Regions from separate parts of the Homo sapiens genome. Here all the other regions are linked to region 5. Evidence: promoter capture Hi-C in 16 types of primary human blood cells and fetal thymus (Javierre and others, 2016). All regions are on one chromosome and are shown on one strand. The core of a region is centred on a gene start or on the middle of the fragment in contact, and the rest is flanking DNA. Distances in the headings are between cores, read along the strand shown.

Evidence for each region. The method cuts DNA at HindIII sites, captures the fragments that hold promoters and counts their contacts. A CHiCAGO score of 5 or more calls a contact.
Region 1: a contact is called between a fragment that was not itself captured here and the fragment with the promoter of NTS in region 5, in 7 of 17 cell types (megakaryocytes, erythroblasts, M1 macrophages and 4 more). The highest score is 12.6, in megakaryocytes.
Region 2: a fragment that was not itself captured here is called in contact with the fragment with the promoter of NTS in region 5 in 4 of 17 cell types (M0 macrophages, M2 macrophages, megakaryocytes and 1 more); the score reaches 6.8 in M0 macrophages.
Region 3: a fragment that was not itself captured here is called in contact with the fragment with the promoter of NTS in region 5 in 8 of 17 cell types (megakaryocytes, erythroblasts, endothelial precursors and 5 more); the score reaches 27.7 in megakaryocytes.
Region 4: a contact is called between a fragment that was not itself captured here and the fragment with the promoter of NTS in region 5, in 1 of 17 cell types (erythroblasts). The highest score is 5.4, in erythroblasts.
Region 6: a fragment that was not itself captured here is called in contact with the fragment with the promoter of NTS in region 5 in 1 of 17 cell types (megakaryocytes); the score reaches 5.7 in megakaryocytes.
Region 7: a contact is called between a fragment that was not itself captured here and the fragment with the promoter of NTS in region 5, in 6 of 17 cell types (fetal thymus, megakaryocytes, erythroblasts and 3 more). The highest score is 13.2, in fetal thymus.

What each region holds. Positions count from the first base shown.
Region 1 is chr12:85,498,341-85,501,368 of GRCh38, forward strand. No RefSeq gene overlaps it. Among named protein-coding and RNA genes, the nearest start is that of LINC02820, 180 kb to the left of the region's middle. The HindIII fragment of the contact is 6,193 bases long and covers 1-3,028 here.
Region 2 is chr12:85,514,403-85,517,720 of GRCh38, forward strand. No RefSeq gene overlaps it. Among named protein-coding and RNA genes, the nearest start is that of LINC02820, 200 kb to the left of the region's middle. The HindIII fragment of the contact is 5,362 bases long and covers 1-3,318 here.
Region 3 is chr12:85,481,298-85,484,427 of GRCh38, forward strand. The region is part of intron 4 of LINC02820 (long intergenic non-protein coding RNA 2820); the gene reads left to right. Among named protein-coding and RNA genes, the nearest start is that of LINC02820, 160 kb to the left of the region's middle. The HindIII fragment of the contact is 2,888 bases long and covers 328-3,130 here.
Region 4 is chr12:85,377,721-85,381,105 of GRCh38, forward strand. All of the region lies in intron 2 of LINC02820 (long intergenic non-protein coding RNA 2820), which reads left to right. Among named protein-coding and RNA genes, the nearest start is that of LINC02820, 61 kb to the left of the region's middle. The HindIII fragment of the contact is 2,154 bases long and covers 667-2,820 here.
Region 5 is chr12:85,872,317-85,875,674 of GRCh38, forward strand. It overlaps NTS (neurotensin), which reads left to right and starts at 1,979. Exons shown (of 4, transcript NM_006183.5): 1 at 1,979-2,160. The coding sequence starts at 2,088. The HindIII fragment of the contact is 11,906 bases long and covers 366-3,358 here.
Region 6 is chr12:85,400,016-85,403,249 of GRCh38, forward strand. The region is part of intron 3 of LINC02820 (long intergenic non-protein coding RNA 2820); the gene reads left to right. Among named protein-coding and RNA genes, the nearest start is that of LINC02820, 84 kb to the left of the region's middle. The HindIII fragment of the contact is 340 bases long and covers 1,247-1,586 here.
Region 7 is chr12:85,438,945-85,442,159 of GRCh38, forward strand. The region is part of intron 4 of LINC02820 (long intergenic non-protein coding RNA 2820); the gene reads left to right. Among named protein-coding and RNA genes, the nearest start is that of LINC02820, 120 kb to the left of the region's middle. The HindIII fragment of the contact is 6,428 bases long and covers 1-3,215 here.

The DNA of each region.
Region 1 (3,028 bases), core at 109-2,608, 370 kb before region 5:
AATAGGTAGATGGTGAAGAATTTATTGTTATTTCCAGAGTCATGGAAGAGTAGTTACCAAAAGTCCCTCTTGTGGACAAAAGCCCAAAGACTGAATTAGTAACCATTAAATGGCTATGATATACCCAGTTGCATCTGTTTGCTGTTGCCACTGTAACAAATTACCACAAATTTAAAGGCTTACAATAGCACAAATTTATTATCTTTCAGTTCTGGAGCCTAGAAATTTAAAATAAAATGTATGGGCTTAGAACAAGGCTGTTTTTTCCGAGACTCCAAGGGAGAATCTGCTTCTTGACTCTTCTACTTTTAGGGGATTCTATCCTTCCTTGACTCCTGGCTACATCACTCCATTCTCTGTTTCTGTGGTCACATTGGTTTCTCTACTGTTGTCAAATCTACCTACCTCTTATAATATTTTCTCTTTGTGATTATACTTATGGCCCATGCAAACAATCCAGAATAATCTTTTCATCTCAAAATCTTTAACTTAATCACATCTGCAATGTTATTTTTGTTACATAGGGTAACAGTCACATATTCTTGAGTTTAAAGTGTAGACATCTTAGGGAGCCATTATTCAGCCTATCATACCACTGCTGTTCTGTAGTACTGCTCGAGATGTCAAAAAGAAAGAGATAAGTCCTCCATGGGTTTATAATATAACTGGAAAGACAAAAGAAGTCTTCCTTATCGAATAAAGAATACTTTATGCAGGATGAGGCCAGCAATAAGAAAAAAATATTTCATAGTTTAAAGAATGAAGAAATCAGTTGGAAGAGACTTGGAAAAATACATGAGCAAAGACAGGAGAGGTAGAGTAGGCATGTCTTAGAAGACAGTTTCATAGAACTGGATTTCTAAGGTAGAGCAAACACTTGTAGGATGGAAACATGTAGTGCCTTCTACATTGTCAAGTACACGGGTAGGCAATACGCAAATATCTATATGAAAAATAATAGATGATTGGTTAAAATTGGAATGAATGAATATATGAATAAATGGATAATTAAATTGATTATATACAGATTATGAAAAATTATGTGAATTAATCTTCATAAAGTTCTGTTATCATTATGTAATTTGTTAGAATAAGTTGTATCCGTAACTTAAGGGGCAACGGTGAAACCAACAGAAAATCCTAGAAGACGCATCCTAACATCTTGATACAATGATACAGCCTTGGGTGCCTAAAAGGTATTTGCTACATGTAAAGTTTAGCACTGAGAATTTCTTAAATATGCTTTCCTTTTAAATATCTTGATCACCAAGGATGATATCTCTTGAAAGCTGCTGTTCAGCTCAGTGTGTATACATCTCATATAAAAGGGTCAGTTTAAGAAATGTGAAGGTCAGAAAAACACAGAATGGAAATGAGAAACAGAAAGGTATAATATTTCATTAAAAATATATCAATGCCTCTGAAAAGTAAGAACAGGAGAAAAAGTTTCAAATTGATTAGGAGCAGCTCAAGAAAGTTACTGCTGTCAACTCTTTTTAGAAGGCAATGTTGGGCAACAGATGAGATGGCATATAAGTTTATATATGTGTGTCTGTGTGTGTGTATATATATATGTATACAATTTATATTAAATTTTAGAGTACTGCCAAATGATAATTAGAACTATATACAGAGCTGTCTAAAATCTTGTTTGTGTTTCTCTCAGTGCGCTGTGTTTTCAGTGTTTGTTCATGGAAATAGTATGTTTTGTGAAAACAATACATGAATATAGTGGCCATGATTTAAAGTTAAATTTCTTTTTGCATTTTTCTTTGACATATAACTGAAATTAAAATGATTTTATATGTTTTAGAGATAATGAAAAACTAATCTGTTTCCTCTGAGAATACAATACCCTTGCAATGAATGGTCACTGTGTTGGAAATCAGATCTGGATTGTGAGTTGCTGGCATCTTCATTGGTTTTATTGAGTGATATTTCATCCCTCATTTATAAATGTAAATCAGTTACAGTGTTTGGGGGTGACTGGGCGCGATGGCTCGCCTGTAATCCCAGCACTTTGGGAGGCTGAGGTGGGCAGATCACGAGGTCAGGAGATCGAGACCATCCTGGCTAACACGGTGAAACCCCGTCTCTACTAAAAATACAAAAAAATTAGCCGGGCGTGGTGGCAGGTGCCTGTAGTCCCAGCTACTCAGGAGGCTGAGGCAGGAGAATGGCATGAACCCGGGAGGCAGAGCTTGCAGTGGGCCGAGATTGCGCCACTGCACTCCAGCCTGGGCGACGAGCGAGACTCGGTCTCAAAAAAAAAAAAAAAAAAGTTTGGGGGTAAATTACTATTATGTTGCTTTATACAATAATATCATTAAATTTACTAGAAGGAAAAGCCACTGTCTGTAATCATTACAGTTGTTCAATGAATATTTATTTTGAAGTTTTCTTCTGAAGAAAACTTAAACCATAAGCAAGTTTTACAGTTCGTTTTAAAAATATAGATTATGGTTTATTAACTTACATTACATTTTTCCCACCCCATATTGGCTTGTAATATTTTTCCCCAAAGAAGTGGAATTGAAACTTGACTCAGTTTGGAGGTGTTCACTAATGATCTCTTGAATCATTTCCTTCTCCACAGTTTTTATTCCTCTATATTAGAAAGCATACAGCATATTGCCAATTTTTCACTAATGATGCATGAAACGTAATGAGTTGAATGGGCCTCCAAAGTATTACATGAATGGCCTTCAGTATGTTGTTTCACTGTGGTCTCCAAACTCATATTCCATAATTGCAAGGAAATAATTTTTAACTTTGCAATCACTCAACCGAATAGCATACTACAATTGTACTACCTGCTATTCCAATTTGGCTATCAAATTTTTATCAACATGTAAGCACAACTATCTTATTCAGCTTTGTATCATACAAGTATTAGGTTAAATGAAATTAACATGTACTAATTATTCTGAAAAATAATTAATTAAAATAGACTACAACAAAGCAAACATATATTTTTGCCCTTTCGGTTCATTTTATGATATGTATTTTTCTAATTTCTACTTTATAT
Region 2 (3,318 bases), core at 816-3,315, 360 kb before region 5:
TTTAAAACTTGTCATCTCAGAAGTCCGTTTCCATAATAGTAAGTTCAGAGATTCTTCTTTCTGGCTGCAACCTCCTATTTTCCTGGTTGCCTCCGTTACTTCTATCATACATTTTCTTTGATCCATTGGAGACCATGAGTCTCTTAACCACTCTATTTTTTCCCAGTAGTTACACCCTATCTTCATTTTCTTTCCTAATCAGCTTAATTGCATGTGCCACCACATGGCAGTATTATCATGCCTTTCATCTGTCTGTGCTGTCATTGTCTTTAGATAGCAAAATTCTTAACCAGGGTTACTCCAGCTAGCAATAATGTCCATAGAACTCTGAGGGAAGGTAAGCACTGCTGGAGATACTTGCATTTACCTGGACTGCTACAAATTCATGATATCCTACCTTATTTGGGTAGCTCAATATTCCAGGAAAACTCCTATAATTTTCCAGTCAACTGGATTCCACTTTATATAGCCCTGATTTATCTTTTGAATCTTTCTCTTTTTTACTGTCTGCTAGATGCCTACTCTTAAGCTACACTAAACTAATTGTACTTCCTCATCTAAGTTTGGATAAGCTGCTAGTAGTATATATTCTATGGAGAGTCACACTTCCTTTATTGTAGTACATTTTCCTATAATGATGCTGCCTGTTTACTTGGTTACATTTGTTATTAGCATGACAATATGCCAACAGAAACAGACAAAGCCATGTGAAATAAAAATAATTTAGTCTGATGTCATTTTAATAACTATATGAGTTTTGGCCCTATCAAATAGGGAAAATGTGGTAAAAAAAAAAAAAAAGGAAATCAGCAAAAACAGTAAACAAACACAAATATTGCAGAATTGTGTACATTTAAATGAGGGGGATGGAGATCAACAGATTATATAATAATGATATGAAGGACTCTGTCAAACAGCATTAATGAATCTATACAGACATGGAAAGACACAAATGTATTAAGAGAACTAAAGAAATGCAAATAAAGCAGTAAAGGGAGGTAGCAAAAATTCTAGTGGGAGCTCAGACTTTTTGAGTAAAGACTGGAAAAATTAGGTAGTAATATGGCTTATCCTAGGACACGAACTTTTTTTTCAGTTTTAGAGACTTAGTTTGTATAACAGAAATTGATTGGGTGTGCACCCATAGAGTTACAGACAAAATAAAAAAAATCCTGTGATGTGATTAGAATTTTTAATGATTTAAATAAAATCCCAATGCATTGGCATAGAAAATTCTCATTTCCATAGATTGGGATGAGAATTATTTGCATTGTAGGATACGTATTCTAAATCAATATTTATAATAAATATAGAAATTATAAATTAAATAATAACCTTAGAACTAATGTGTTTTACATTACTTATAGGAGTAATCTGTGTTTTACATTTTAAGTAGAATTAATGTTTAAGAGAATTTTGCACATTAGAGTAGCTAACAGATTTATTCTGAATTTCCAATTTAAAGTTTGTAACTTAATGAATAATTCTGTATTCTAATTTTAAGTTTAAAGGCATACGTTTTTATGAGGTCTATAAACAATACAGTATTTGTTAGACAATTGAAATGCTGAAACACTAAATATTTGTATTAAATCTGTAAATCATTTATTTGAATACTGTATTAACCAAAAGAGTAGTTCCTGAATTTTACACCAAAGCTGCTCAAAGGATACCAGAAATATTAATTATTCACTCTTTGAAATTAAGGACATGCCATTTTTATTACAATTAATCTTGCACTATTGGAGATATAGTGAAGGTCTATGAAATATTTCTAAAATGAAAGATGAATGCATGAAACTGTTAGAATCATCTTTAGTAATAATGCTTAATGAAATTAATGCTGATGCAGCAAAAGAGAATAAGAAAAGAATACATATCTTTAAATTAAAAAGAGTACATACCTTAATTCTATAAAGATTGCATATATATATTTTGAAATATATATTATGTATAAGTCTGCTTTTAATGGAAACTAACTCTATTCATTTATATTAACTCTGAAGAGTACAATCAGTAAATGCTCTCATTTCTAGAATATAAATTTTCTCTCTCCCAAGAAGTAAAAGTATGAATTACCTTTAGAAGAGACTTTTATATGGGGAAAAAAATCACTGTAAAATGTTCTATTTATTTTCAGAAATGTAAAGCAAGTCCTATCCTTTATTCATGTGGAAAATGGCAAAATCCCCATTTTTGTGTCCCTTTGATGATATAAATCATGTGTGGTTGAGTCTGGGATGAATCTCTCAGACTGTTGCTTTTTATAAAATGAGAAAAAATTTTTATTTTGATGAGTTAACATGACATTCTGCCTATAAAATATAGTTTGTTTTTATTTGTTCAGAGTGATGGAGATTATCCAAAGAAGGCTAAGTATGGAATGCACAAGTAGCACTGTTTTGGGGAAAGACCTAGTAACACGTGGCCTGGCTTTCTATGCAGCTCAACCTGGAACTGAGTCTCCCTGACTAAGTGTTAAGGTTAAGCAAGTCTGAAAATCCTGAATGTACCAGGTCGTGTCTTGTGTTCTGATATAATTGTTGTGATGGGTTCACAGTCCTGAGATTTCCCCTGAAGGGAATGAAAATGTTCATTTTCAGTCATCCTGGAAAAGACAAACCCTCAAAAAAGAAACCAGAATTACAGGGGTCACACCTTAAACTAGATGGCAGGTGGTGAGGCTCAGGAAAACAAACTACTTCTTAATGTGAATCATGCTTGGATCACCTCCAGTAGCCATGATGGAGGGAAGGGGGAGTGGAGGGACACCTTCAATGTTCTGATTCAGAAGTACGCCTTGGGTGGAGCCCAGGTATCTATGTTTGCATCAAGCCTTGCTCTCTTTTGCCCACTACCCTGTGATTCTAATGAAAGTAGCCTGCATACTGTAAGATATATTAGACTTAAAGAGTAGCAACTTTTGCATATAAAATCAAACACAAAACTGGACAATAGAAATAGTGTTTAAAAATGCATCATTTTGCTACCTTTGACATCTATCTTTTTTCTTATGCCAAAAATAAGTTAAAATCTGCTAGAGAGCTATATCATTAAAAAAATCATAAGACCACTCTTCAGTATAAAATAGCTGCCATGCCATTACTAAGGTGTGGCTAATGTGGTTATCTCCTCGTTCAAATTCATTTTGGGTCTTAATTATTATTCTGGCTTTGGGAGAATCAGAATATGCTGGAGTTTCACTCATTGCCTTTGGCTTGTGTTTTAAGTATGACATCAGAGACAGTTCTTTTTACTGTCAATCAAGGAGTGAACAAGCCATGTCAGTGGTACACAGGAGGAAAACAAAATTGTCCA
Region 3 (3,130 bases), core at 522-3,021, 390 kb before region 5:
GCTAGTCTCTTATCATATAGAACTTTGTGATAATTTACTTTTAAAAGGTGAATTTAACTCACCCAGTTAGAAATACTTATGATTTTGTCTACTGGTGGTAGGAAACGTATTTGCAGGAGAGGCTGTCATGGCAGTGCTGAGCTGAGCCCGTAGCCTCAAGTATACTAAAAAAACACCATTTTTCCCTCTCTTTAGGTTAGGGAGGCTCTTGAAACAGAGAGACTGAGTTTCTTAATTCTTGTATGATGAAGGAAAGTCTACATAAGAGGTGACTGGGGAGAGGGAAGCAGAGAGGTGCATTAGGATGGGAAATGAGAGTCAAACAAAAGCTTACAAACCTCAATTTTGTCTGTCTTAACGCTCTGCTTAGAGCCCAATACTGAAGTGTAAGAAAATATTTGGTCTGTCTGTCTCCAAAAGTAATGCTCTTTTCATTACTAAACTCGATGGAAGAAGGAAGTAATTACAACTAAAGGAGGAGAAGGAGAATAAAATATATGTTTTACATTGGCAGAAAAACTGGTTATGTTAGCACTTTAGATTGGAACAAAAATGATTCAGAATGAAACTCTCTTTTTTTTCCATCCATAGATATTTACCCTATAAATGTTTTTTAAGTTATCCTAAGTTCTAGGTCCTAAACTTTATTAATCTATTATCCAAAATTCATTGAGGTACTGTAATAGACTTCTTAAGGAATCTATGCTGTCCATACATCCCTTGCCTTGAAGTATTCATAATATTTAGTCATCTATTTGCTTTCCTAAGAGGACAAAACATTAACTCTTCCATTATTCCTTTGCCTTGTGTTAATCCTTCAAACACAAGTATTCTCAAGTGGAAGTCTCATTCATTTCTGCCATCTTAATAGCCATCTGTGTAGCTACACTTTTAACGACAATACTTACAAGAAAGGAAATGCTATTGGATTGAATATCTTAGAAAAGCATATAAAAATTTATATTTTCAACTGCTTTACTTCTAACCGTCATTTTTTTAATAGAGAAGAAAAAATATCACTTGAAATAATGGTTGTTCATTTACATCGATCACACTTTCCATCCTCTTCCCAAACTCTCTTGATAATACAATGTAAATATGGGAAATGACATGAGATTTAGTTCCTGTACTGTGAGATAAGACCCTTAATAGAAGAACCAAACTGTCATTCTTGCAAGAACCTGAAGAGTCTAGAACCTCCAATGTGTAAAGTTAAGAATAATAATAAGAAAGAAAAAAAAGGATGAGGTGGAGCTACTCAGTGGGATTTATAGGTCACACATTAAAACTAAAAATCTTGATCTGCTGGTTTGGGATCTTACAAATGTTTATCTCTCTAGACAGAAAGTTAACAAATGACCTTCTATAGTGCTGATATAATTATTTTTCTAAGATAATGAACTTGCTGTTTGACACCACTGCCAATTTTAAAAATAATCTGCTTGTCTGAAATATCAGAATAATGATTAAGCACAACATGTTCAGAGATCTAAGATAATTTGATATTGACAAGCATTTGTTAATGGTACAAAGTATAATGAGTCTGTATTTGATGGTAGAAAATCTGCCATTAGTAGTTAAGCCATCATCATAACAGCTGTTTGACAACAGAAAGAGCTTGTTAGTATTTATTCTGTTTGGCTAAAGTATCAATTAATACTGAACCAATCAGCCAGCCAGCTAAAAAGAAACATAAAAAATGCAAAGTTCTTTTCTTGCCTTTTCAATATAATTTGAAGCCATCAAAATTAAATTGAATGTTATAATTAAAACACATTACACAAGTGTGTTTAATAAAGACTAAAATTCTCTATTAAAAGTGAACAGGAACCAGAGAAACATTTATAATGCAAAATAACTCTAAACTGACAACAGTAAACTGCTGTTGCATAGAAATTGGAAAGTGATATTGTTTAATGTCAACAAAGGAGATGCCGAATACCTTCTTTAAAGAGGCTTGAAAGAAATAATTTACCATGGAAACTCTGCCCAATTCCAGAGACTGCATGTGCTTTCATACAGTGAGAAAATCTGTGAGATTCCAACTCTTTGTAGAATGTGAGAGGAGTAAAATGGCTGTCCTCATTCCCCACTTTAATTTGAGCAATCCAGAATTTACTATGGAGTGTTCCACTGAACAAGTAGCTACACAAAACTTGAATAGGGGTATCTAAGAAACAACAGCTACATAGACAACCAAAGAACGCTTGCTCAAAGAAGTCTGGGAAATGATGAAGTGAACAACACTAAACCTCACCGCAGGATCTCATAGAGCCTTTAACATTTGAGATGTCCTGAGAAGCTCCAAAAGGTGAATGGAGTTCCTACCAGTTCCCAAAATTTGCTTGACAAAAGTAAACCCTCTTTTTTTGCATAGGGTATATTATGGCATTAGGACTCACTGGAAAATATTAATACAATCAGAATTTAACTAAAAACAAGAAATTTCAAATTTATATAAATTGCTTCTTTGAATTTTAGGTTTCTAAGAAATATAGCAAAGGTAAAAACTATGTAATATGTAATATGCGTAAACTCTTTTCCTTGTTTGTGCACTTATACCAAATTTAACTCAAGTTTCCTACCTCATTGATAGGGGATAGGCAACAAGGAAATCCCAAATTCCTGGAAAATTGCTTGATTATATAGCAATAATTTATTAATTGTCTTTTAACATAGGGGTATTATCCTTCCAGTAGCATAATGTCCAAGAATGCTACAGTGGGATCCAGTCTGGGTTTGCATCTTGGCTCAGCTACCTACTAGTTGTAACCCCTTAAAAAACTTATTTAATGTCTTTATACTTCTTTTTCTTCACCTGTGAAATGAGAATAATAATAATGTACCTATATCATAGGTTATTAAGCAGACATCAAATACATGTTATAAGTATTGCTTATATATAAGTGTGTATAAGTATAACTAAAGGTATGACTTACAGTTTTTTTAAAAGAATAAGTAGCACTAACTCCTCAATCAACCCCACAATTTTTTTATCATCTTACATCAAAAGTTCACACAAGAGTCAGACCTGAAGAGCTGTGTTTATCCTTTGAACCTTACCTTGGCACCTCCTAACTTTTAAAGAGCATCTTCAAATAAGATACTCCCAAGTACTACTTGAAGAGTA
Region 4 (3,385 bases), core at 494-2,993, 490 kb before region 5:
AATATCAAGTACATAGATAAAGCTAACATACAGTGTGAAGGACCTCTGCAAAGAAAATTTTAAAACTTTATTAGTAGATATGAAAGAACACAAATAATGTGAAGATTACGTTCAATTTTCCCCAAATAAGTTATTAATTAAAAGCAATTTTAATCAAAATCTCAGAGTTTTCCATGAAATTTGATAAAATGTATGTGTTAGAGTAAATGTTCAAGATCAGCTATTAGATATCTTAGGAGGAATATGAAATGGGAATTGCCATATCCACTGTCAGAACTTAGTATGAATCTACAGTAAATTAGACAAGGTGGCACTAGTTCAAAGAAAGAAAAAAAAATGACCAATGGAATTCTAAAGAGGGAGCCCAGAAGAGTGGCTGTGTGGCTGTGTCACTTTATCTAAGTTGGAACAGTGATTCCCAGAATTGTCATAATTTTGCGTTGGATGACATTTCCAAAACCTTCATTCATTTTAGTAGTTCAAGGGCTGATTCACATTGTTTTCAGTGAATTTTTCCTGGTTACCTTAGCCACAAGTAGACCATACCTGTACCTCTTGCATATTTTAGGAAACAGACCTTCTTTGGAAAGGTTAGCATGGTGCCTTAGTTGTAGGAAGTAAAAACAGGTTGCCAAGGGGGAGAATTCAAACACAACGTAGAAAGCAAGCTTATTCCTAGTCTAGGGGCTTTAAAAATGATCTGTTGTTATTGTTGGCAGATTATAAAGTTCTACTAAGGACACATTGAAGGAATACCACAATATTTTATCTTCAATTTAAGTAAATAACCACAAAATGTATCATTCCAAGGTTGCTGCTGGCTGAACATTTTATCAACATGACATTTTAATATAGAGAATAGAAATTCTCAAACTTTGCTCCTTAAGATATTAATAGACACTTCTATCAAGAAAGAAAAAAAAGGAAGAAAAGAAAAAAGTAAATTTGGATATATTTGGCAAATGCTGTCAAATATTAACTACCCATGGCTAATTAACAATGTCAACTAGCATACAAAATTATATGGAAAAGCTGGCAGGAAAAGTGTAGACTGTTTCCTCCCTTTAAATCTGGATCAGACTTTTAACTACTTCAACCAGAAGAGTAAGGCAGAAGTGATATTGTATGACTTCGAATAGTAGGTCATAAAAAAGACGTAGCTTCCACTTGACCCATACTGTTTGGAATGCTAGCTCTGGGTAAGCCAGCCACCATGCTGTAAACTCAAACTGGGTTTGGATCGTAATCTGAAAGACAAAAACCTGAATGCCATAATCCTGAATGTTAAAATCCCCAAAGATCAAAATTCCTTATGTCTAAAATCCCAAAACATCAGACCTTGAAAATATAATTTTGGAGACGAAAATATCAAAGACATTATTTACATTTTAAAAATGGGGTTTAGGGCTGGGTGCGGTGGCTCAGGCCTGTAATCCCAGCACTTTGGGAGGCTGAGGCGGGTGGATCACGAGACCAGGAGATCGAGACCATCCTGGCTAACACGGTGAAACCCTGTCTCTACTAAAAATACAAAAAATTAGCTGGGCGTGGTGGCGTGCACCTGTAGTCCCAGCTACTCGGGAGGCTGAGGCAGGAGAATGGCGTGAACCCAGGAGGTGGAACTTGCAGTGAGCGGAGATAGTGCCACTGCAGTCCGGCCTGGGCAAAAGAGCGAGACTCCGTCTCAAAAAAAAAAAAGGGGGGGGGGTTTATTTGAAAACATATAAGAACATGAGAGGATACTTCATCAGCTACTTTACACAATAAGACATACAATAACAGGACACATATTTTTGCAAGCATAAACACTAATATATACTAACAAGTCACACAAATATAACAGTTATAAATCAACCATATTTATAAAGAAATAGGTCGAAAAGCAAAATGCATAAACATATATCACTATGGTTGGCAATTGTGTGCACCCAACTTTTTAACTGTGGTCATGTAAAATACTATGATGGACACACTGAGTCTTTTGACAAGATCTATCAAATACTGCAATGGGTCCCAACAAAGTATGCAGTTGCCCAAAGAGCTGAGATCTTGAAAAAATTTTTTCTTTCACAAATGCAGATATACAAAGTAAGATATATCTTCATGTATTGAGGATCAGAGTTTTTATATTCACTCACAATGCTTACACATGAAGTGAACATTGTGATAATGCATTTTTGTGGAGTCAAATTTGAAGAAGAAAATATAAAAGTTTTTAAACAATGATGTAATGATTAAATATATAACAGCAAACTGGCATTACGGTACAGAAGTACACTATCAAATTACTTGGTAGAGGAGATTTCAAGCATTTTTCACCTGTGTTTTCACCTCTATGATCTTCAAAATACTCTGCACTTGTGTTTGGAGAGTGGTTGTGGTCCATACATTCCATAAGTGTATGCTGTGCATTTGAAAATCTGGTTATTGCTCAGATATCACAAGCAATTTTCTGCTTTCACATGCAGTACCTATAATAGTTAGCTTTTAAACTTTTATCATTACGCCATTATCACAGCCTTTTTGTGAGGGAATAATTTCACAGATCTCTTTCATTGTGTTGTATACAGTAAAAGGAGTAACACTTAGCTTCCCTAATACCACATCTGTGTTAGTCAGAGTTCTTCACAGAGACAGAAGCATTAGGATATGTATATAAATATATGAGAAGGGATTTATTATGATAATTTGTTCACACAATTATGGGGCTGAGAGTCCCATGACAAGCTGTCTGCCAGCTGGAGACCTGGGAATGCCAGCAGCATGGCTCAGTCCAAGTCTGAAGGCCTGAGAACCAGGGAAGCTGATGGTATAGCCAAAAGCTTTGGGACCTGGGGAGCCACTGGTGTAAGTCTCGGAGTCCAAAGGCCGGTGAGTCTGGAGTTCTCATGTCCAAGGCTGCAGAAAAAAAGTCTGTCCCAGCTCTCAGAGATAGGGACCAATTTGTCTTCTGAATTTGTTCTCAGGGCCCATGGCCTATTAGATGGTGCCCATCAACACTGAGGGCAGATCTTCTCCACCTAATTTACTTACACTCAGATGCTAATCTCTTCTGGAAACATCCTCACAGACACACCCAAAATAATACATTACCAGATTTCTAGATATTCCTTAATCCAGTCAAGTTAACACCAAAAATTAAGTCCATGCAACTGTCTTTCACACAACTGAAAAATGCACTAATTTCTTCCCCAGAATTCAGCTTTCAGGATTTTAACACTTAGGGTTTTAATGTTTCAGTATTGTCTGGATTTTAGACATCAGGGATTTTAGATTTTAGGGATTTTGACTTTGGGGATTTCAACATTTTGGATTATGGAGTTTGGATTATGATCAGCACAAAGTTGTCTCAACACTATGAATTAAAAAGTTTGTGTTTGCCCAG
Region 5 (3,358 bases), core at 729-3,228:
TAACAACTAATATCCATGTTATATATTTAAAATGAATTTCCATTAATTCTTCTCCCCCTTTTTTCTAATTAATTAGGGATCAATTTTGTCAACATATTGAAGAAATCATCTGAGGAAAATAAGAATCACATTTCCTTTTTACTATTAGACTGCTATCACACATTTTAAAAGATCATTCTTTGTATTTGCAATTCAAAAGCAGAGAAAACAACTAATTTAATTATCATGCAAAGTATATATAATTTTCCCGATTTGTTAATCAAAGTGGCTTTAAGAGGATTCTGTCACAAAGATGCTCTGATAGTAACAGGAAAGTAAGCACAAATCCTCACTGAGACTCTGTTAAGTGAAAACCAAGTGTTTCAAGCTTCCATTGCTCCCCCTAATGGTAGGAAAGCAGAAAACATCTAGACGTATGTATTTCACATTTGTCAACTAAATACTTTACAGAAACCTTCCTCCATGTGAGTATGTTCAATATTGTGTTTTATGTAAGTTCAGAAAACAAACTAAAAGTAATAAATATATCAGTTATTATTAAATTTCTGGTATTATATGAAAGACTCCTTGCTATTCTAAGTAATTATTAAATGTTTGGATTTAATCGCTTTGCTTAAGTTTTGGGTAAAGGTGAAAAAGTTAAACTCATAGATTGTATAATATAAATCAATTATCTATAGGAACCAATCCTATTTTTTCTCAACTGTTACTACATGATTGATTTATTTAAAAATTAAACAAGACTCAGACAACTTTACATTCAAATATTCACATCTCTAACAGCACTGACTTGTCAAATTACCCCATGTATCTTGAAATGCTTACTACAAGAAGAAAGTTTTACTCTAAAAGGCATTTTGAACAATTTTCTTTTGAGAACTCAGACAAAGAATGGGTATCAGTGTAACTCATGAAATACATGAAGACTATCATAGAAAAGTGACTTTGGTGAATGGTGGTTATTTAGGATTGTCTCCTTTCCAAAAGTACAATCTCTTTTTTTATGGTGAAAAGAGTATTATAACAGGGAAAGAAAGCCGATGCAATAGTAAAAACTGTTGAGAAGGGAATTATACAAAGAGTGAGACATGGCATCAAGAATGAATTCAAAAAGAGCAGAAAAATATAGGCATAAAAAGAGATAATGTACAGAAAAAAAGTCAGTGATACAACAACACAAATTTTTACCTGCTAGAATGTAAGTAATTTAGAGCTGGATTTTATAAACATGAAATTGTTTTTCTAATACATTCAACCAAAAGTCAGCACACATAGTTCAGTCATCTCTCATTACTTACAATAAAATATTTTCTATTTGTTAGGAAATAATATCTTATTCCCTGGATCTATTATTTCTTTTTATTGATTTTCTTTCTATTCTCTAAACTTAATTGCTTAATTTTTATAACTGATTCTCTGTCTCTATTCCATCTTATTCCAGCATGGATTATTTAAAACCTGTATTAGTTTTGGAACCACTAAACATTTGCTCAGAAGTTTGAATTACCAGAGAAGCACCCTAACTCTTCAAGAACTTCCAAGCCTAAGGAATCACTGATTTCATGCATTCATCCTGGAGATTTTCCTTAAAAATTAGAAATAACAGATCTCATGTTTCACAAAATCAAAATGACAACTTTTGGAGTGGGGGAATGAGAAGTGGGAAAAGGATGATACTGGGGGTTCTTTGTCAGTATGCTGTATGTATGCTGTATGTCAGTGCAGTTGAATGACTCCTTCTGTGCGTCAGAAATCCAAAGCAGCAGCAGCAGCAATTAGGGAAGATCGTCACTTTCACTCAAGGTTCAGAAATGGGGGAGGAGAGCAGGGGGGACAAAGGAAAAGGGGAGGAGAAAGCAGGGCAAAGAGGGGAGGGATGGAGGTGAAGATAGGGCACATCCTGCAAAGATAATGTCTGTACAATCAATGACATCATCCTCCTGCTTATATATATAGGGGAATGGCCAGAGCACCTCTCATAGTTCACTCACTTTCAAAGCCAGCTGAAGGAAAGAGGAAGTGCTAGAGAGAGCCCCCTTCAGTGTGCTTCTGACTTTTACGGACTTGGCTTGTTAGAAGGCTGAAAGATGATGGCAGGAATGAAAATCCAGCTTGTATGCATGCTACTCCTGGCTTTCAGCTCCTGGAGTCTGTGCTCAGGTAAGCAAAACAGAATTTCACAACTCCCTGAAGTGATTTCTTTTTTCTCTTTTGCAGTGTGTTGCTACTTATGTTAATGTATCTGGGGAGAAGAGTTGCTCCCTTTTATTCAGGATTTACCTTTTAGTGACAGAAACTGAGTATCTCTTTCTCTGCCTTTATGATTACTGAGAGATGTATTTTCTCTTTTAAAATCTGCAAAGCAATAAAAGGGATTTCAATGAAACACTGCACGACCTCCTTTGGAATTCAACAACTAGAGGGAAAAAAACCCTACAAAACTTTCAATTAGGCTGATCATTATCTAATGAGAAATACAGAGGCAGTGGCTGTCAACCTGCAAACCCATCATTAAATCCCATTCCATTCAAAATGTTTTACTCTCATCCTCATTCATTCTCTTAGGAAGCGGTGGCCCTCACGCCCTTGTAATAGTCCCCGTATTATTTTCTTGTTTGTGTTAAGATAACAAATAAAGTGAAAATTGATACTTAGTGAAAAATGAAGCATTATTTGTAGAAAATTATTTCTAGAAAAATACAAAAATATTCCAGATCCTTTTTGAGAACAGAATTTGCATAGTCTAATAAGTGTGCTATTAATATAACTGTTTGGCATTTTTTCCATGCCATTTAAGTTAATACAAAATACAATTGGAAAATTGGTATTCTTATATTGATGGAAATTATTTGACTTTAGAGTGTTTTGCATGTGGTTTGAAAGAAGTTATATAGTCCTAAGTATCTACGAATAACTCACTTTGAAAATAAGACTTAAATTGAAAGGTATAACATGAAATATTACAACCATTGCAAAAGGCTCTACTTAATATTTAAGAAATATTACAATGAACACTTCAAAGGGAAAAGAACACATTAGGAAGCAAATGCAGCAAAAATAATTTAACCTGTTCTGTGCTTTTATGTATCATAAATATGACATGGAAATGTTTAACTCAAACTCATGCTATCATTTGATTTAAATTATGAAATTAAAATCTAAGAAGATATAAATGTGATTTATACAAAATTTTAAATTTATTTTAATCATCAGAACATAACTTTCAGCTTCTACTTTTTAAATCTTATGAGAAAAAACAAACTTTTCTATAATTATGATTTTATCTGAAAGTTATATGAGATTAAAGATTCACATACTTCTGGAAGAAAAACTGGGTTATTGATTAAGCACTGTGTTT
Region 6 (3,234 bases), core at 167-2,666, 470 kb before region 5:
AGAGCTTTCTCTGTTTTTTGTTTTGCTTTGTTTTGTTTTGTTTTGTTTTTAAAAGCACAGATCTGGAAATGTCTGTCCTCAGCCTCAAAAATACTCAACCTCCATAGCAGGGTAGGTAAATTATTTTGAAATCTACTCTCTACCATTCTGACCAACTATATCCTCACTACTAATGGACTATCCACATACGTCTTTCCCCTTCTCTAAAAATGCCATCATCTTTTATGCGTTTGCATCTTTACTTTTTCATATCTAGCTGAGTCAAGGTATCTTTCTAATTCTAAATCTTTAAAAGTTTTCCATAATCTTTCTTTGACTTCACTTCCCTATGTTTCTAAAAGAATTTCTCTGTACCTGTATTGAAGGGTTTACCACATTGTACTTGAAGTTATGAGTTTGATTATTATTTTCTCATTGACTGTCACATCTGTGAAAGAAGGGACATATTATTAAGCATTATATTCCCACTGCCAATGCCTGGCACATAGTCGGTGTTTTAAAAATTAAAAGGTGAACTAGTGTACACTTCATGATGGCTAAAATTCAAAAGACTAATTAAATTAAGTAAGTTGAGTCAAGGCTGTGGAAGATCTCAAACTCCCATACACTGCTGGAAATAGTGGGAAAATAGTAAAACCACTTTGGAAAATACTTGGGGCAATTTTTTAAATAGCTACACGTACAGATATATGATCTGCCTATTACACTACTAGGTAGCTACCCACATGAAAGTAAGCATATGTGCATATAAAAACTTGTACATTAATGTTCTTAGATGCTCTATTTTAATAACCAAAAACTGAAAACAACTCAAATTTCCATCGACAGGTGCATGGAGAAACAAACTGTGGTATACCCATACAACGTAATACTATTTACGGCAATACAAAAGAATGAACTTTTGAGAAATGCAATGAAATGAATGAATTTCAAAATAATTATGCTGAGTAAAAGAGGTCAGAAAACACAAGTATAGGGTATATAGACCAATTTTATAAAACATCAAAACAATGAAAACTCTTCTATGGTGACAGAAAGCAGAATAGTGGTTGCTGGGGTTTGCGTGAGGCAAATACTGGAAGGCTGAGGATGGAAGGATTAAAAAGAGGCATGAGAAAACTACTGAGGGTGATGGATATATTCACAATCTTGGTTGTGGTTAGGCTTTTATGGGTGTAAATATATATCAAAACCTATCAAATTGTGTAAATATGTGCATTTTTCTATGTCATTTACACTTCAATAAAGCTTTTGTTAAAAAAGTTAGAAAGTGAAATGATAAAACTATATTTTGCAAGTAATTTTACAAAATAGATGCTACTGGTTTTCTTAGGGTACAACTGGGTAGGTATATATATTTATCAACATAATTTGGTAATGCATACCTTTTTCAAGAACTGACAGCATTGTTGATTTGGGATACTATAAAGTCAGACACTATTCTTTACCATTTAAAATATTTATATTCTTCTCTGTTAATCAAATATGTGATTATTTATTATCTGTATTTACTGTGGTAGAATGGGAAGAAAAAGTGAACTGACCTTATACCAAGGTCAGTATGTGGCCCCTGAGCGGGTAGTTTAAGCTTGCTAGGCATCGGTGCTTCATTTTGTAAAGTAAGGCAGTTAATATACAGTGAATACGGTTCAACAAGTAAAGTTTGTAAAAATTGAGACAGAATTTTGACAAAAATACTTAGGAAAGGTGTTAGAGTTGGTAGATAGTATTCATGGCCTCTGGAGCAGTTTAAAATCTAGAAGGTATATGAGGCCATGCCTAAGTAATTTTAAAGAAGATATGGGTTCAAACTGGATATGTCGTAAGCCAGGAAGGAGGCAAATGCTCTGAGAAGACAGTGAGATCCCTTCTGAATGGAGTCTGCAGAAAGCTTGTGAATAACACTTCACTGGAGTCAGCTCTAAAAGAATGAGTAAAATCCCAAGAAAATGGAATTGTGATATTGTGACAACACAAAGTCTTAAATATTATTTAACCAAACAGAGATGGAAAGAAAGATAATCTAAACAGAGATAACTTGGCAGCAGTGTACACAGTAGACTTGACAAGAGGGAATTACTAATGTTGGCTGGAGCAGGCTATTCTTTATATATATATATATATATATTTATTATACTTTAAGTTCTAGGGTACGTGTGTACAACGTGCAGGTTAGTTACATATGTATACATGTGCCATGTTGGTGTGCTGCACCCATTAACTCGTCATTTACATTAGTTATATCTCCTAATGCTATCCCTCCCCCCTCCCCCCACCCCACAACAGGCCCTGGCGTATGATGTTCCCCTTCCTGTGTCCAAGTATTCTCATTGTTCAATTCCCACCTATGAGTGAGAACATGTGGTGTTTGGTTTTTTGTCCTTGCGATAGTTTGCTGAGAATGATGGTTTCCAGCTTCATCCATGTCCCTACAAAGGACAAAAACTCATCATTTTTATGACTGCATTGTATTCCATGGTGTGTATGTGCCACATTTTCTTAATCCAGTCTATCATTGTTGGACATTTGGGTTGGTTCCAAGTCTTTGCTATTGTAAATAGTGCCGCAATAAACATACATGTGCATGTGTCTTTATAGCAGCATGATTTATATTCCTTTGGGTATATACCCAGTAATGGGATGGCTGGGTCGAATGGTATTTCCAGTTCTAGATCCCTGAGGAATCGCCACACCGACTTCCACAATGGTTGAACTAGTTTACAGTCCCACCAACAGTGTAAAAGTGTTCCTATTTCTCCACATCCTCACCAGCACCTGTTGTTTCCTGACATTTTAATGATCGCCATTCTAACTGGTGTGAGATGATATCTCATTGTGGTTTTGATTTTCATTTTTCTGATGGCCAGTGATGATGAGCATTTTTTCATGTGTCTGTTGGCTGCATAAATGTCTTCTTTTGAGAAGTGTCTGTTCATATCCTTCGCCCACTTTTTCAAATGGGATCTAATTAAACTAAAGAGCTTCTGCACAGCAAAAGAAACTACCATCAGAGTGAACAGGCAACCTACAGAATGGGAGAAAATTTTTGCAATCTACTCATCTGACAAAGGGCTAATATCCAGAATCTACAAAGAACTGAAACAAATTTACAAGAAAAAAGCAAACAACCCCATCTAAAAGTGGAGCAGGCTATTCTTAAAAGCAAGTAGGAATGTGAAGTGAGCTTGGAAAAGGTTTGGTGCAAATCGCTGAGGACCTTGAATGCACGGTTAA
Region 7 (3,215 bases), core at 579-3,078, 430 kb before region 5:
TACTCTCTATTCTGTTCCATTGGTCTATGTGTCTATTTTTGTACCAGTACCATGCTGTTTTGGTTACTGTAGCATTGTAGTTTAGTTTGAATTTGCATAATGTGATGCCCCTGACTTTGTTCTTTTTGCTTAGGATGGCTTTTGCTATTTGGGCTCTTTTTTTGTGTTCCATGTGAATTTTAGAATAGTTAGTTTTTTTTCCCAATTCTGTGAAGAATGTGATTGATAGTTTAATAGGAGTAGCATTTAGTCTTGAAATTGCTTTGGGTAGTATGTCATTTTAACAAAGTTGATTCTTCCTATCCATGAGCATGGAATATTTTTCCATTTGTTTGTGTCATCTCTGATTTATTTGAGCAGTGCTTTCTAATTCTCATTGTAGAAAACTTTCATCTCCCTGGTTAGCTGTATTCCTAGGTATTTTATCTTTTCTGTAGATATTGTGGGGGTTTTTCTTGATTTGGCACTCATGTTGGACTTTACTGGTGTGTAGAAATGCTACTGACTTTTGTACATTAGTGTTGGATCCGGAAACTTTGCAGAAGTTGTTTATCAGATCTAGGAGCTTTTAGTCAGAGACTAAAAGTTTTCTAGGTATAAAATCCTATCATCTGCAGATAGAGATAGTTTGATTTCCTCTTCCTATTTTGACCCATTTATTTTTTTCTCTTGCCTGATTGCTCTGACTAGGACTTTTCAGTACTATGTTGCATAGGAGTGGTGAGTGGTGAGAGTGGGCATCCTTGTCTTGTCAGTCTGGAGTCAGTCTGGAGGCTCTAGTAAGAGTCATGGGGGATCTCCTGAGCCCAGGATTGCAAAGGTCCACAGCACAAGTGGTTCCTGGAGGCTCTCACTCACTCACTACTTCACTATGGTGGGGAGCCTACCCTGACTCCACACCAATCCTGGGTGGGTGGCTGTCCTGTCTTGCTTTTGTCTGTTCTCCATGGGCCACCTTGCTTCCTTGATGAATCCCAACATGCCCAGCTGGATGACCTACTTGAGACACTAGTATTTACTCACCACTCTTTCTTTTCTTCATGAAGCAATGCACATTAGCTACTTCTAGTTAATTATCTTGGCTCCAACACCCTGACATTAATTGATGAATTTCTAAAATTGTAATCATTTATAATCATTGATCACTAGAAAATATTATAAAATCACCTGGAATAAAGTTTGTCTAGAGTTGCAATGGATCTGAAATATTGCCCTACTTGCAAGCTAGCAAGTGAGCCTGCCACAACTTCATAGATGTTGGCAGAAGATATGAGACTCCTAGGTTAGAGATCAAGAAAAATATTTCTCATGGCAGAGCAAGCAATTTGAACATCAACATATTTTCATAAATTTATTTTGCCTCAATACTCCTGAGGTGATTTGACAAGCCCAAATGATACCTGAAAATACAATGGCTTACATATAAAAGAGAAATTACTACCTTAGAGAACTACAATCTTTTACTCAGGGCGGTAAACAAACTTGCCCTTTGCTCTGAAGAGAGAAAAGTACTGTTATCTTTCAAGACTGTTTGCTATACAAATACTCTTGATAAGATTGCCAGAAACAAGAGGCAGTGAATGCCTCTCTCCTAGGAGGTGCAGAAATGCAAGAAGCCTGGAGAATCATTTCACAACCAAAGTATGTCAAACTAAGATAATTTTCTTTTTCTGATGTTCACTGTATTTCAGAATTCTTATAAGAATATACTAATTTTATCATGTGATAACATTTCTTCTGGTACACTTGCACATAAGAAAGCTGTATAGATGAAAAGATGTTGCAATTGGATGAATCTGTTGCACACAGGGTCCAGATAGTTTAATTTATGAAAACCTTAAGGGAAGTCTTAGGCAATACTCTTGAACAAGTTATCACCAATAATTGCCGTCCTTCTTGATATGTTAATTTCAAGTACTTTTTTCTCTGACCTATGTCCTACTCTTTTATAAAATATATTTTAGCACCCCCCTCCAAAAATTGTATAAGTTCGTTTGAGGTTTACAATCTACTTATCCCATTACTTTTTCAATATGTTTCAACCCATCATGCCTTTATCATCTATGGGCACGATTTATATTCTATGATCAATAATTAGGATAATTCTCTACAACTAGTGGCTGATTGAATTGCTGCTGTAGTCTTAATGTGTGTCTCCCCAAAATTCATAAGTTGGAACTTAATCTGCAGTGCAACAGTATTAAAACGTGGTGACTTTGGGAAGTGATTATGATATAAGAACTCTGCCCTCATAAATGGGATGAGTGCCCTTATAAAAGAGACGCCAGGGAGCTTTTTTGCCTGTTCCGCCATGCAAGGAAACACAGAAGGCACTGTCTATAAGAAACAGGCCCTCACCAGACACCAAATCTGCTGGCACCTTGATCTTGGATTTCCCATCTTCTAGAACTGTGAGCAATAAATTTCTGTAGTTATAAATTACACAGGGTAAGGTATTTTGTTATAGCAGTCTGAATAAACCAAGAAAATTTCATGTAACCATTGTGGGATCAGAGAAAAAGCAACCATAATCCAAGGGCTTCTATTTTAAATTCATGGCCAAAAACCACAAATGTTCAAATAATATTTAGAAAATGTTTAGTATCATGGCCCATCATAATAAAGCGACTATCCAACGAGCTGCATATTTTACAACTATACCTATGCAGATGAATGGGACTGAAACACACACCCACATTCACACAAACACACATTCATGAGATACATGTACTCAGACACACCAGGGCTGACTTTTTGCCTTTCCTTTACTGTAAATCTCAAATGTGTACTAAAACTGACAAATCATTCCATTATATTTTCTCGGAATATTTTCTTTCCCACTCATTCTCTCAGAGCATTATGACACACATTTTTCCCTCTGTACAAACCTCCAACAATCTCCTAATTTCCAGGTGATTATATTAACTCATATTTAACTGGAAAATAAAACAAGATTAATCTGACTCTAGGAGGACAAGACAACTATCCAGAGATTTGCAGTGCCACCTAATGGATAGTCCAGAGGGCTGATCTAGAGTTAAGGGAGAGAAGTTAGAGGAAAAAAAAGTTATTCCCAGATGATTTTGAGCTACTTAGTGAAATACTGGGAGGGTGAAGCTGGGCAACTATGTTTACATGCTCTTATAGATAAAAAACAACCAGATTTGAGTCACTGTTGGGTTTGAAGCTGTATATGACACTTGTAATAGTGTTAA